Linked DNA regions of Homo sapiens: regions 2, 3, 4 and 5 are each linked to region 1. Evidence: promoter capture Hi-C in 16 types of primary human blood cells and fetal thymus (Javierre and others, 2016). All regions are on one chromosome and are shown on one strand. Each heading gives the region's core, a stretch centred on a gene start or on the middle of the fragment in contact. The rest is flanking DNA. Distances are from core to core; before and after follow the strand shown.

The links. Contacts are between HindIII fragments. The CHiCAGO score rates a contact against its expected background, and 5 or more counts as called.
Region 2: the fragment with the promoter of ZC3H12B here is called in contact with the fragment with the promoter of LAS1L in region 1 in 2 of 17 cell types (total CD4 T cells and non-activated CD4 T cells); the score reaches 6.4 in total CD4 T cells.
Region 3: a contact is called between a fragment that was not itself captured here and the fragment with the promoter of LAS1L in region 1, in 1 of 17 cell types (activated CD4 T cells). The highest score is 7.1, in activated CD4 T cells.
Region 4: a fragment that was not itself captured here is called in contact with the fragment with the promoter of LAS1L in region 1 in 2 of 17 cell types (naive CD8 T cells and total CD4 T cells); the score reaches 6.5 in naive CD8 T cells.
Region 5: a contact is called between a fragment that was not itself captured here and the fragment with the promoter of LAS1L in region 1, in 6 of 17 cell types (total CD4 T cells, M1 macrophages, total CD8 T cells and 3 more). The highest score is 6.1, in total CD4 T cells.

Annotation. Positions count from the first base shown.
Region 1 is chrX:65,533,487-65,536,111 of GRCh38, forward strand. LAS1L (LAS1 like ribosome biogenesis factor) reads right to left here and starts at 1,301. Exons shown (of 14, transcript NM_031206.7): 1 at 994-1,301; 2 at 124-249. The coding sequence starts at 1,229. RefSeq lists an enhancer at 1,396-1,575. The HindIII fragment of the contact is 19,270 bases long and covers 1-2,625 here.
Region 2 is chrX:65,033,523-65,036,147 of GRCh38, forward strand. ZC3H12B (zinc finger CCCH-type containing 12B) reads left to right here and starts at 1,304. Exons shown (of 10, transcript NM_001010888.4): 1 at 1,304-1,747. It also overlaps a transcript of ZC4H2 not described here. RefSeq lists silencers at 1,332-1,481, 1,542-1,771 and an enhancer at 1,872-1,931. The HindIII fragment of the contact is 4,649 bases long and covers 1-1,840 here.
Region 3 is chrX:66,024,601-66,027,225 of GRCh38, forward strand. It overlaps VSIG4 (V-set and immunoglobulin domain containing 4), which reads right to left. Exons shown (of 8, transcript NM_007268.3): 6 at 425-529. Among named protein-coding and RNA genes, the nearest start is that of MIR223, 7.0 kb to the left of the region's middle. The HindIII fragment of the contact is 3,017 bases long and covers 1-2,625 here.
Region 4 is chrX:66,002,706-66,005,330 of GRCh38, forward strand. No RefSeq gene overlaps it. Among named protein-coding and RNA genes, the nearest start is that of MIR223HG, 11 kb to the right of the region's middle. The HindIII fragment of the contact is 163 bases long and covers 1,261-1,423 here.
Region 5 is chrX:65,985,172-65,987,796 of GRCh38, forward strand. No RefSeq gene overlaps it. Among named protein-coding and RNA genes, the nearest start is that of MIR223HG, 29 kb to the right of the region's middle. The HindIII fragment of the contact is 1,539 bases long and covers 539-2,077 here.

The DNA of each region.
Region 1 (2,625 bases), core at 51-2,550:
ACAGTGAGGTACACGCAGGGTTTTGCTTCAGGTAACACCTGAAGCCAAGTTTTGCTTATCACATGCCTCCCCTGCCTCCAGTCCCCAAAGCCAACCTCCACCCCTACCCCATGCAGGTCTTACCTGACCAATGCCATGCCATAGAGCAGTCTAAGTTCATCAGTGCCCAAGCCACCAGTTACATCCAAGAGCTTACAGCGTATCAGGTCAGCAGTAGAAGCCACTGCCAGAGGGAGTTCGTTGCCTGACCTAAAGGGTCACAGTCCAGCACCATCATAAAGAGCCCTTACACTGGTCCACCCTCCACCTCAGAACCTAGGTTGTTGCAGGCTACACCCATCATATTCTGGTTCAAGAGAGCATGAACAGACACAAAACAAGAAGGTGGGAGGAGACACGGTAATGTCTGTGGGATCCAACAGTATACAGGGCATGAGGAGCTGACTAGGCCGTATACAGGACACCTAACTGGTAGACTGTCCATCAACAGTTGTGTGGACACACCCCTTTCTTTCACCCCCAAATCAACTCATTGAGCTAGAGGAGCCCCTTATCCCTTGTAAGTCGGCTCCCAACTCAATCTTACCAACTGGACTGAGGCGCCCCACTCAAACACTGTCTTGCAGGCAAGACTTCCTCCCCATTGGAATCGGAAATCTACCCTAGGGTACTAATCTACTCCTTAAGCCCTGGCTCAGGCCTCACTAGTCCCTCCGGCATCCTCTCCAAGTTGGGAGAAAGTCACTTTTTGGAGGTAATGGGTAAACCTCACAGATATAACAAGAGAATTGTTGAGGCACAACCCCTTACTTTCCATTCCGCTAACGGGATTAGCGCAAGAGATGGCTGCCGCGTTCCCCCAGGCATTTGGGAGAGGGACAACTTTAGGCGACTTAGGGGAAGACTGGAGAACAGGGCCTTATAGAAACTCGACAAAGGAAGAGGTGCAGCGCCACCAGCACGCAGGCAAAAGGGCCGAACCCGCCACCTTACCTGCTCCTCCACACCGTGATGCGGTTAAGCGCGTACCGCTGCAACTTATGGTCGTCACAGAACAGATAAACCGTCACCTGGTCCCACTCGGCCCTGCTGAGCCAGGCGACCACGATGCCGTGGGCCGAGAGTGGCAACGACCCTTTCCCTTTAACGCACTTTCCGTACCACGCACTCCACACGAGATCCATCCCCTGGGAACCTAGACCTGGCCCGGCCCCGGATTCCCACGACATACTGAGCTCAACAACAGGCTCTGTGCCGCGCCGCTCCGCACAGCCTTCAGCTCAGCGTGCTACCCTCACTCCGAACCGCCACCGCACCAGCAGCCAATAGGAGAGCGTGACCCCATACGCAAGCCCGCCTTCCAGCGTCAGCATGGCCAATCGGAACGTCAGAATTGGGCGCCGACCTAATGACATGCGGGGTTAAAAACTCACCGGCCGGAAGTGTTCTTTTCACAAAGCAAACCCTCCAGGGGCAAGAGTTCAGCCTCTAGGTTCCGCCAATTTCCTGGTTGCTAACCGGCTTCTGTACCAGACCGGAAGCGGTATGTCTTCACTGCAAGAGGAATTTTATTTTGCTCCCCTCGGCGGGTGGCAGCTTGATTGTAGTCATCCAGTGAACTGAAAATGCGATTTTAAGTATATTTTTATTGCCGTGAATCAGGACCTAACCTAGTAAAACACTGGACACTGAAGCAGGGCTACAGAGGAAATATCTCATATCGAAACAGTTACAGTTGGGTTGAAAAAATCTGCTTTTGTGGCAGGTAACCAGGGGCCCTGCCTTTTAAATTAGTACCAGCCTGGCCAGGCGTGGTGGCTCACGCCTGTAATCCCAGCACATTGGGAGGCCCAGGCGGGCGGATCACTTGAGGTCAGGAGTTCCAGACCAGCCTGGCCAAAATGGTGAAACCCGGTCTCTAGTAAAAATACAAAAATTAGCTAAGCATGGTTGCACATGCCTGTAATCCCAGTTACTCAGGAGGCTGAGGCACAAGAATCGCTTGAATCCGGGAGGCGGAGGCTGCAACAAGCCAAGATCGCACCAGTGCACTCCACCCTGGGTGACAGATCGAGACTCTGTCTCAAAAGTAAATTAAATAAATACATACATAAATAAATAAATAAATACCAGCCTAGAGACCTGAGTTTTACTCTAAATTTTGCCACTAACTATGTGGACTTAGACTAGTCTCAGTTTTCCCATCTGTACAGTGAGAGTTGTAGACTGGTCTCTAGGTTCTCTGTCATAGCAGAAAATTGTAGAATTTTACTCTGCCAACATTCCACTGCTATGTTGGTTTCAACATCCACCAAGGTATACTTAGTTTTTCTGCAAAATTCCTTGGTATTTTGGAGTTCTGGGAGAAAAGCGGTATTATGAAGTTCCTCCGATTTTACGAGTTGACTGAAATATGTTTAGGACTATGTCCCAATCCTTCTTGCAGAAGTTATTTTCCAATGTAACACTTGAGAGAGAGAGAGAGAGAACTGTTGCTAACGATCTTAACAGCATTGCTGTGAGTGGCACTTTTACGCTTCACAGCAACAAATCCCAATTCATCCTCTATATGTGCTTCTTTCTCCAGCCAACTTTTCCTAAGATATAGTCTGCCTATAGTTATTT
Region 2 (2,625 bases), core at 54-2,553, 500 kb before region 1:
GGTGTGGAAGGAGCTAGGGCTAGAAAAATAGAGGCAAGATCTTAGAGGACTTTGAATGTTAAGCTAGGGAATCTGTATTTTCTCCTTTATTATAGATAATGAATCTATTGAAAAATAACTCCAATTTTTACTAAGCGCTTACTCTGAGCCACAGTAAGTTATGTATGTTAAGTGCTTTACATTCACTTTTCCATTTAATCCTCATAACTACTCTATAGGTATTATAATTATCCCCATTTTACTGATAAGGAAACAGATTTAGACAGGTTAAGAATCTTAGCTCAGGCCGGGCACGGTGGCTTACGCCTGTAATCCCAGCTCTTCGGGAGGCGGAGGCGGGCGGATCACTTGAGGTCAGGAGTTCAAGACCAGCCTGGCCAACATGGTGAAACCCCGTCTCTACTAAAAATACAAAAATTAGCCAGGCATGGTGGCTTGCACCTGTAGTCCCAGCTACTTGGGAGGCTGAAGCAGGAGAATTTCTTGAACCCAGAAGTAAGAGATTGCAGTTAGCTGAGATGGCGCCACTGCACTCCAGCCTGGGCGACAGAGTAAGACTTTGTCAAAAAAAAAAAAAAAAAAAAATTCCTAGTTCAAGGAAACAGAGCTACTTGGTGGTGGAGCAGAAATTCAAACTTGGCTGTAATTTCAAAGCCCATTCTCTAAGCCAGAAGGAAGTGAGATTAGATTTTCATTTGATCACTGGTAGAAGTATGAGAACAAATTGCAGAAAGACAAGTCTAAAGGCAAAGAAACCAGAGAGTATGCTGTTGCAGTAGTCAAGAATTGTTAGGCCCTATTAAGGGAGGTGACCCTTAACCACCTGAGTTATGCAGACGAGTGACATAGTCAGAGAAGTTATTTAGAAAATTACCCTGGCAGCCCTTGTGAAGGATGAATTGGAGGAGCCAAGACAAATACGTAGGCAAATAAAATAAAAACAAATAAAAGACAAATAAAAGGCAGTGAGACAAGTAGTGAGGTTGTTGGGACTGTCACTCTTAACCGCAGAGGTGCCTGTCGAGGGGCTGGGAGACGGTCGTATCCCAAGTCCTCGGGCCTATCGAATTGCAGAGCATCCTGGACCTCTCCTCACCCACGCTTACCTTCACGTCGCTCCTTCTAGGCCTTAGGAAGTGGGGTTTTGAGCACTTTCTAGGTCGTAGGCCTGCTGGTCTGAGCTCCGACAGCGGCGCCAGCGGTGGCAGCAGTCGCCGACAGGGGTGGGGCGCATGCGCACAGTTGCTAGGCAACGGCGGCCGGGCGCCGCGGCGATAACCGCGCCGGGGCTGTGTGTGTAGGCAGAGGCGCCAGAGGAGGAGGAGCAGGAGGATGCAGCTGCGACCGCGGCCCCAAGAGGGAGCCGCCGCTGCTCTGTGGCCAGGGGGGCCCAGGGACTGGAATCAGGCCTGGGGGTCGCATCGCTGAGGGGACTGGTAACGGCGGTCCCTCCAGAGGCTCAGGCCTAGTACCCCAGGAGGGTCCGGGCCGCTGGGCGAGCGCCTTCCCCCCATCGCCTCCCCTCGTCCCTCCACGTCGATGGTGGTGAAGTTGGCGGCGCCACGGAGCGCAAGGCACCAAGCTGTCTCCCTTGCACCCAGCTCCTCTCTGGCCCCGGCTGTTGGACACCTGCGCCGCCGCCTTCTCTCGCCCGCCGAGCCCACCCCCTGCGGCGGGCGGGGGAGGGGCTCCCCCCTGCAGGGGCTGCGTCGAGCAGGGCGACGACGGGGACCATAGGAGAGTAGGGGTGAGTAGTGGCACCGCACTCGCTCGGTTCTAGTGCGCCTTTCCGGCCTCCGTGGCCCCAGGAGGCGAGCGAATCGCTGCTTTCTCCTGCAGAAGCTTCTGACGCCTCTCCCACATCTGCTCGCGGCTCTCTATTCCCTTCGAGGTAGTTTTCCTTCTCATAGCCACCACTTTTTGGTCTCAACCCTGGCGTCCAGGAATGCGGGGTGGGTGCTTAAGGCCTGGCTTTGCTTCTTAGATGCCATAGATGCTGATAATTCTACGTACAGTCACGCAGCCTGATTCCTGATTCGTGGACAGACTCTCCCAGTGCCGTGCTCGCCCCTTTCCCCTCGCTCTGGCTCTGGCTCTCGCTCTCTCAGGAGGCTCAGCCTGACCGCGGGCTTCTCAGGAGCCCATTCCCCGGGCTGCTGTCGCTCCATGCCTCAAGGTTTGAACACATAGCTGGAGTGGCCCCTTACTTTTCAGTGTTGTTGCTACTCGTGTGCTAAGACCTCCCGAAAGCCTTGTGCCTGGCTTCTGACTCCTGACATGTACGTTAGGAAGATAGTACTTATATTAAATAATAAAAATAATAAAACAAACACACACTCCATTTGACTTCTAAAGTGCTATCAAACTTGAGAAGTAGGCAGAATGGCTGATTCATAATAGGGGAAACTGGTTTTACAAACTACTTTTCATCCAGAATGGCATACTTCTTTTTTATTATAAATACGATGATGAAACCTAAAATATCCCCAATAAAAGCGAGGATGGGTTGTGATATATCTGTTCTTCCTGAGGTAGCCTGCAGTTGAAGATAGTCGGTTCCAGAAAACATTGGCATGAGGCACCGGAAGTGATATTCTGGACAAGGTGATTAGATGAGGTTCTAAA
Region 3 (2,625 bases), core at 43-2,542, 490 kb after region 1:
TTACTCTCTTCTCCTCTGGATCCCTTTAGCATTAATTGTCTTCTCTAGTTTTTGAGCTCATAGCCTCTATTGCTATGTATTGTCATTGATAAATTCCATGTTTCTACCTTGAATCTCCTAAATAAATTGTGAGCAACTTGAGGCCAGGGATTGTGACTTCTCCTTCTCTTGCATCATTACAAGATGACTCGTTAGAAAGATGGCTGTACTTCACTGAGTACCAAAGCCTAGTGCATTTAGTTCTGTAAGTCTTATGCCATTGTTTGCTCGAACATCTGCCTCCCTGCACCCCAACCTTAACTCCCAAACTAGGCTGGGAGCTTCTTGAAGTGCCTAACACAATGCCTGATACAGAATTTAGGCTCAAGTATACTGACAGAAAGAACAAATGAGCCAAAGCCACCTTCTCATATTCATCACTAACCTTGTTGGGATGTCTTCCGACAGAGCATGATATAGGCCATGGTAAAAACCACCATACAGCACAAGGAGATGATGAGGATGATGGCAAAGACAGGCAGGCTCTTTCCTAGAGGGTAAAACAAGATCAAGTGGTATTTGATTGAAAATAAGGCCAGAAACAAAAACTCTAAGAAACAGCCTAGACTAAGCCAGGCCTTTTTCTTTTTCATTTTCCATATTCTCCTAACCTTCTTAGCTAGCCAGAGAGAAAAAACTCCAGTCCCATGAGAAAGACTTGAGAAAGAGATGCCATGTGTAAACAGGTTCTTCCAGACTCACTGGTGGGCTGATTGGCCTGGGCATTTGAGCTAGTTGTCTATGCTTTCTATAGGGCCAAGACAGAAGGTTTTCACCTTCCCTTAGAAAAAAGAAAATAATATCCTGACTTTCCAGCTTCACCAAAAATGCTACATACCTTATTAAGATTCTGGTCAGTTACTTCTAGCCACAAAGATTCTTCCCATCACACGCTCTGGTCAAGTCCCCAGCTTCCTTCTTTCTCAAAACATATTTCCACTGAGCCACTTGAGACACATATTCCCATTATGCCTAAAAGCTGAAAGAATCAACTGGACTTGGCTTCCAGTCCTAGATCTGTTATTTACTTTCTGTATGACTATGGTAGGCAGAATAATGGTCCTCTAAAGATATTCACATCCAAATTCCTGGAACCTGTCAGTATGTTAGTTTACATAGTAAAAAGGAACAGAGATTTGAGAATGCTACATTGTTAGTTTTGAAAATGGAGGAAGGGGGCCATGAGCCAAAGAACGTGGGTAGCTTCTAGAAGCCAGAAAAGAAAGACAAGGAAATTAATTCTTCTCCAAACCCTCCAAAGGGAACATAGCCTTGCTGACTGACATTTTGATTTTAGCTCAGTGATAATTGTGTCAGACTTATTTCCAGAAGTGGAAGATAATATATTTATGCTGTTTTAAGATACTAGGTTTGGGGTAAGTTTTTACAGCAGCCATGGAAAAATGAATACAGTGACCTTAGACAAAACTTTGACTGTCACTAGGCCTTAGTTACCCCATAAGTTCAATGAAAAGATTGGATGATGTCTAAAGCACTTTTAGCTATAATATTCTGAATCTAAGATGCTAGGTCAGGGGGGATAGAGAGGCGTGAGGAAAGGAACCTCAGTGTACTTAGGATTTGTTGCTGCAACTGGCTTGTTTTCATGAGACTCTAAGATATCGTGTCCTAGGAATCCAGTATTTGTGGTCCTCAGAGTGTCTTGTTGGGACTGAGAGAGCTCAAGTTATAAGCTGGTACAAATCGAAGAAATATTCTCTTTTGAAGAGAGTCAAGTACTAAAAAACTTGGTAGAGAAAATAGGGCGCAGACCCAACATCTAATAACTTTGCCCAAGGTTATTTTCTCATTTTTCCAAACCAACTCCCTATGAGGCAATTTCTAACTTCTCTTCTCCCAGTAGATGTTCTTCTCGGAGAGGAACGGAGCTATGGAAATCTTGAAGCCAAAGATGGCAATGCAAATGTGGAACATAAAACAGGTTTGAGTGCTGCCAAGGGATAGCCAAAAAACTCTGCAATCAGGAATGGAGAGTTACAAAGAGCATTTGGAAGTCCACTCTCTCAATTATACACAGGCAGAGAATGAGTACCAGGAGTGATAGTTATCAAACTATTTAATTCCAACCAGTCACAACAGATGCCTACTGTAGACTTGGAGTCTTAGAGATTCCTTGGTATACCTTTTGTTGCATGACCATGGGGGTGGTCTAGAGAGTTCTGAGGAATGGGACAAGGCAGCCCCAGGTAATAATGGAGGGCTCAGGGGTTAAGGGGAGCAGCTAATTATCAATTGGTGTGAGAGTGTTCTATTATTTCAACAGTCAATGTAGTCATGTGAAGGCATACCAACTGACTATCAGATGCAGGTGAAACACAAAAGATTTATTTGGGATTTGAATCTCTGAGACCCTGACTTGGGAATTTTCAAGGCTTTGGAGGAATCAGAAATCAGCTTCAAGCGGCTTGAAGAGCCCTGGTTAAGAGCTCAAGCAATGACACTCAGCCATTATCCTTACCTGGTTGAGGTCATGATGTCATAATGTCCCTATCCATATTCTTGCTCAGAATGTTTGGAAAGCATATTACTATGACAACAGAGAACTAAATAAAGGGCACATTTATC
Region 4 (2,625 bases), core at 92-2,591, 470 kb after region 1:
GTGTGGGGGAAACTATCCCACACATTTGGCTGCAGAAATCTTCCATGTTGATTGTTGTGTTGATGTGAAAGCAGAGGAAAAAAATGGTTTGGGGTTTTTCCCAAACAACCCTCAATTCAGGATCATGAGTTTTATGAACTCTCTGAAAAGCAATCTTTAAATCAATTGAACTTAACTTCACTAGTAATTCTCTAAAGGGCTGAGGTTTATTTTCAGCTTCGCTTTTTGATATTTACAACAGATTTCCTCCCTCCAGCCCACGCAGCTTTGTCGCCTCTCTGATTTTCATTTCCTCTTCTTCCTTACCTAAGGTGACAGGAATGCAACCCTGGTTGCAATTGTGTTTTTCTCTATTCAAATTTTGTCTCATTATGTCCATAGGAAGAAAACAGAGGTTTAGAAGACATTACTGGCTGGGCGGGGTGGCTAACACCTGTAATCCTAGCACTTTGGGAGGCCGAGGTGGGCAGATCATGAGGTCAGGAGTTCGAGACCAGCGTGGCCAACATGGTGAAATCCCGTCTGTACTAAAAATACAGAAATTAGCCGGCATGGTGGCACACATCTGTAATCCCAGCTACTGGGGAGGCTGAGGCAGGAGAATTGCTTGAACCCAGGAGACAGAGGTTGCAGTTAGCTGAGATTGCACCATGGCACTCCAGCCTGGGCAACAGAGCAAGACTCCACCTCAAAAAAAAAAAAAAAAAAAGAAGACATTACTCATCAACCCGATTGCTGTGCTGGCCTATGTTCACCTCCAAACACATCTTGATTTCAAATGGTTCACTAAAAGCCTACTGTGTTCTAGGTATGGAGCCTAAGAAATGACTCACCCCTGCCATCTGAAGAGATTTTAACTCGGGCAGAATTGGAGTTGTGGACTTAACATGTGTGGAAAGTATCCATAAGTCAAGATGGAGTCAGATTATATAGCACAAATATTAATATTTATTTCAGCAGGCATTTTAGTCAGATTTAACCAACATTTACAGAAAAGCTACTTCATGTTAGAACTTAACCTAGGATCTGGGAATCCAAAAATTATTAAGTTAAAGCCAGTGCCTGGTAGAGCACACTTTGTAACTATGTAAACAGGTATTCTAAATACAATGTAATCAGGCTGTAATTTAGGTGCATACAACGCACAGAAGAATTTGTCTAGGACAATTAAAAGAGGTTTCCCAGAGGAGATGACAATTGAGCTGGGTCTGAAGAAGAAACACAAGGTCTCCTGACAGAATAGATGTGAAGGGAATAGGAAGCTTTCCAGGTCCACAGAGAGGCATGTGTAAAGGCTGGAGGTATACTAGAATATAGGGCATGCAGTAGTCAGAATATAGGATGGGAAGAGAACAGTGAAGACATAGGCTGTGTACAGATTGTGAAAGATCCTGATCACTTAGCTGACAAATTTTGAACTTTAAGCTTAAAACAATGAAGAGCCACTCATCTTTTCTGAGCAGTGCAATAACACCACTAGAGTTGTGTTATTAAAAGATCATCCTGGCAATAAATATCAAACTTTAAGGATAAAAACATTCCTGGATGAAAATGAACATCATTTTCATCTTTTTTTTTCTATATTCTTCTTCATCATTAGGAACAAAATCATTCTCTTCCTCAAATACAAGCACTCTGGGAGCTGACCTCATCACCCTTTATTAATTTAGCTAACAATTGCTAACACTAAGGCCCCTTACTATGTGCCAAACACTGGTGATACAGAAATCAATTTAAACAGAGATACTTTTTCTTGAGGGAACTACAGGCTACTCATGAGAAAAAGGCATGGACAAAAAATATCACACTTTAAGGTCATAAGTGTTATAATCAGAATATTAGTAAAAATATATAATGATGATCAACGATGATTGATATTTCTAACTTGGATTTTCTCCATGGAGATAAGAAACACAGTATTATGACCAAGTTTGTTTGAGGTGTAGGGTCTAGGGCATGAGGACTTAGACATTCAGGGAGATATGTTCAATATTAGATTGAATCTACTGATCTGGAGGTAGGGAAGATAGAAAGAGAGTAAGGAAGTGTGCAGAGACACAACAAAAAGACAAAAGTACAGAGTATTTGGAAACACATTTAATAAAGAACAGGAAAGAAAGAGACGTCGTTAAGAGAACCAAAGAGAATGGTTAGGAAGATAGGTGAATCAGAGGAGTATAGGTAAATTCAACAATTCTCACTGAGCACTATTGGGATCAGGTGTTCTGCTAGGTATCAGGGACACAAATGGAGAAGACAGTCTCTGCAATTGGCTATGATCCTCTGGCATGAATTTGATCTTTACATCTCATCTGAACCATACTTCTGTGGTTCTGGTGATCAAATTCAGTCTGGAGAGGGAGGGTATTCTCTAAACCATTTGATGACAGGTTTTAGGAAAGAAGAAATGGCTGACAGTCACCTGTTGCAGAGACATTGAAGGGAGTGAGGGCTAGTAGAGAGGCTTTTGGTTTTGTTGATTAAGAGTTCATGGTAATTTTGTGACAACAGTTACCAAGGTTAGTGCAGAAATGAGAATAAAGACAAAAAGCTAAATTATGGTAGATTAGGAGGTTAAACAGTGAGGTAATCTATGGAACCTACTTTTTAGAGTGATCTGAAGAA
Region 5 (2,625 bases), core at 58-2,557, 450 kb after region 1:
GTAATTGCCCCTCTTATCTCCTCTGGAATCCTTGGCCCAATTCACAAATCCTTGGCCCACTCTCCAATTAAAAACTCCCTTATAATGCCGCATTTTCTACTGGATAGAGTCAATACTTATTGACATGCTAAGTATTTGATAGAGCAGTTATCTGAAGATACACTCTCTGTCTTCTTATCTATCTCTTTTTTTTTTGGCATTCCAGTATGGCTCCAATCTAGCTTCCTCAATCCTTTGATGTGCCTTTGTTATCACGTAACATGCGCAAAACTAATGTGGTGTTATATATCTGTCATTCTCTAGTTTGACACTTAGATCCTGGAGAGCCAGAATTAAGCCTTAATCTTTTATGAGTCCTTCACATGGGAACTGATATAAAATATACAACCAATATATGTTAAGCAAAAGAATAAATAAGTAAATAAATTAAACAAATCTAACATAAGGTAGAATGTGATCAATGCCATAAGTGAAAGGCATAGATAAAGCACAGACGAGTCTCAAGCATCTGATAATTTGTGACTAGTAGAATTAGGAAAGCTTCTATGGGAATAATGTTGTGTGACAATGTCATTAAAGATAATTAAGGTTTCATCTCATGGAAGATTCCAATGGACGGAGCCAAGTCAAGTCAATAGAACTATGCAGAGGATATGTTCAGAGACTAGGGAACAGTCCAGCCTGGCTGCTCCACGGAGGTTGATGAAAGGGCAAAGAGGGACACTGGTAAAGTTTGTTGGTACCAGATTATAATAAACCTTTAGAACCAGGCTGAAAGTTTTGAATTTTCTTTAGGAGGCAATGAAGAGCACCAGGTGGCTTCTGAGCAGGTAAACACTGTAATCCAATGTGTGCTTGATGGAAAGGAGTAAAAACATGGTGCCCGGGAGGGTCTTAGAGTTTGTGTAGTGATGCAAGACAGCCTGACAGGCAAGAAGACAGACTCTAGACCCTGCTGTGAGGAGGAAGAAGTGTGGCATTCCAGCATGTTTATGAGAACTCAAACACATTGTAACTTAGTGATAGACGCTAACAATCTCAAGCAGCCTTATTCTAACAAATAATGACTCACTCTTACCATTTGTGAATACTAGGCAGCTGTGGCTCTTATATATGTCAGTCATCTGGGGTGCGACATACCAAACCTAACAGGGGATTCACAGTTCTGACTGAGCTCCATCAGGACTGGCTCCTGTGTGACCTGGCCCATCCAGTTGTGGGTTGTTCCCTTTGTTACTAGGGAAAATTTCCCTGCGTTAACATTGCCCTCTAGTGGTTTTTGTTTCCTACAACCGGAGGTACACTTACCCCAACCTTAAACTTTTCCCTTTCTCAGAGATTGCAGTTTTCTTTTCTGTCTCTTTGTTTTCTCTTTCATCTCTACCTTCTCTTATTTCTCCCTCCCTTATTCCATGCAGTGGAGTGAGTGAAGCAGACAGGCCTAGAGAGAATTAGCCCAGTGTTACAGATAAGGAAACTGAGGCTTAGAAATGTGAAGTTAATTTGCTCTACACATTCAGCTACAAAGCATCTTAACTACAAAGTGACTGGATTAGAATTCAAACCATATATCTGAACTTGGAATTCTGGTTTTTATCCAATTCACTTTCCTCCCTTCTTCCTTTCTGTTCTCCCTCATTCCATCTCTCCCTTTTCATTCACCCTCCCTTCCATAAATGCCAGTTGACAATTCTGTGGTAGGAATAGTGTTAAGACATAGAAATAAATAGATACTGTCTTTGAGGGAACTCCCAGTCTCTTATGACAGAGAGACAAAAATAATTATAACCCAATGTGATTATATTGTTGATAGAGTCATGTTGGATGTGCTGGATCATCAAGGATATAGGGTAATTTACCTGTTATAGAAGAGGGAGAAGGGAAGATTATTTCAGGACAAGGAACCAGTCAGCACTAAGGTATAGGTATGGGGAAATAATAAGACATTTTCAGATAAAGAGTAAGGGGATGAAGGAGTTGGGGGAGTGGGGCCTGGAGCCAGATTGTGGCAGCCTTTGTGTGCCAGGCAGAGTATTCTGGACTTTAGCCTCATTCTCTCTTTTTACACAATTTCTGAAGCTTATAAGTAAATACATTTTCTAGGCTATTACCATACCCCCACATACTAAGTTGTTTAGTTTATTTGTCAAGCAGGCCAAAAAATAACAAAATAAACTATTTTTAAGCCTGTCCAGGGGTATAATATGAGTCCAAGACCAAATGGGAATGAAACCCTGGTCTCCTGCCTTCTAGGCCTTCGGATGATAAAAATGAGGAGGGGGAGAAAGGTGGAGAAATTAACTGAAAAATAATGGGATAGATTCCAGACATCTGGACCAGCCTCAAACAAATCAACATGCAGACTATGTCCTGTTTGCTCTGCCTTCCTCTTTACTTACAGGCCTAGAGATTGGGTAGGAAGCAAATGTTTGTTTATCAAAGTATATTTATCCACTGACCTCCAGAATATTTTCAGGGATGGTTGCTGTTCCATGAAAAACATGCAGGTCACAATACATTGGCCTCAAATCACACAGGTATTCTCATAATACTTCCAAATAGTGCTCCTTCTTTCCCCACATCTTATTTGGGTGCATGTATTAATAATTATCAGCCTCCTAACTT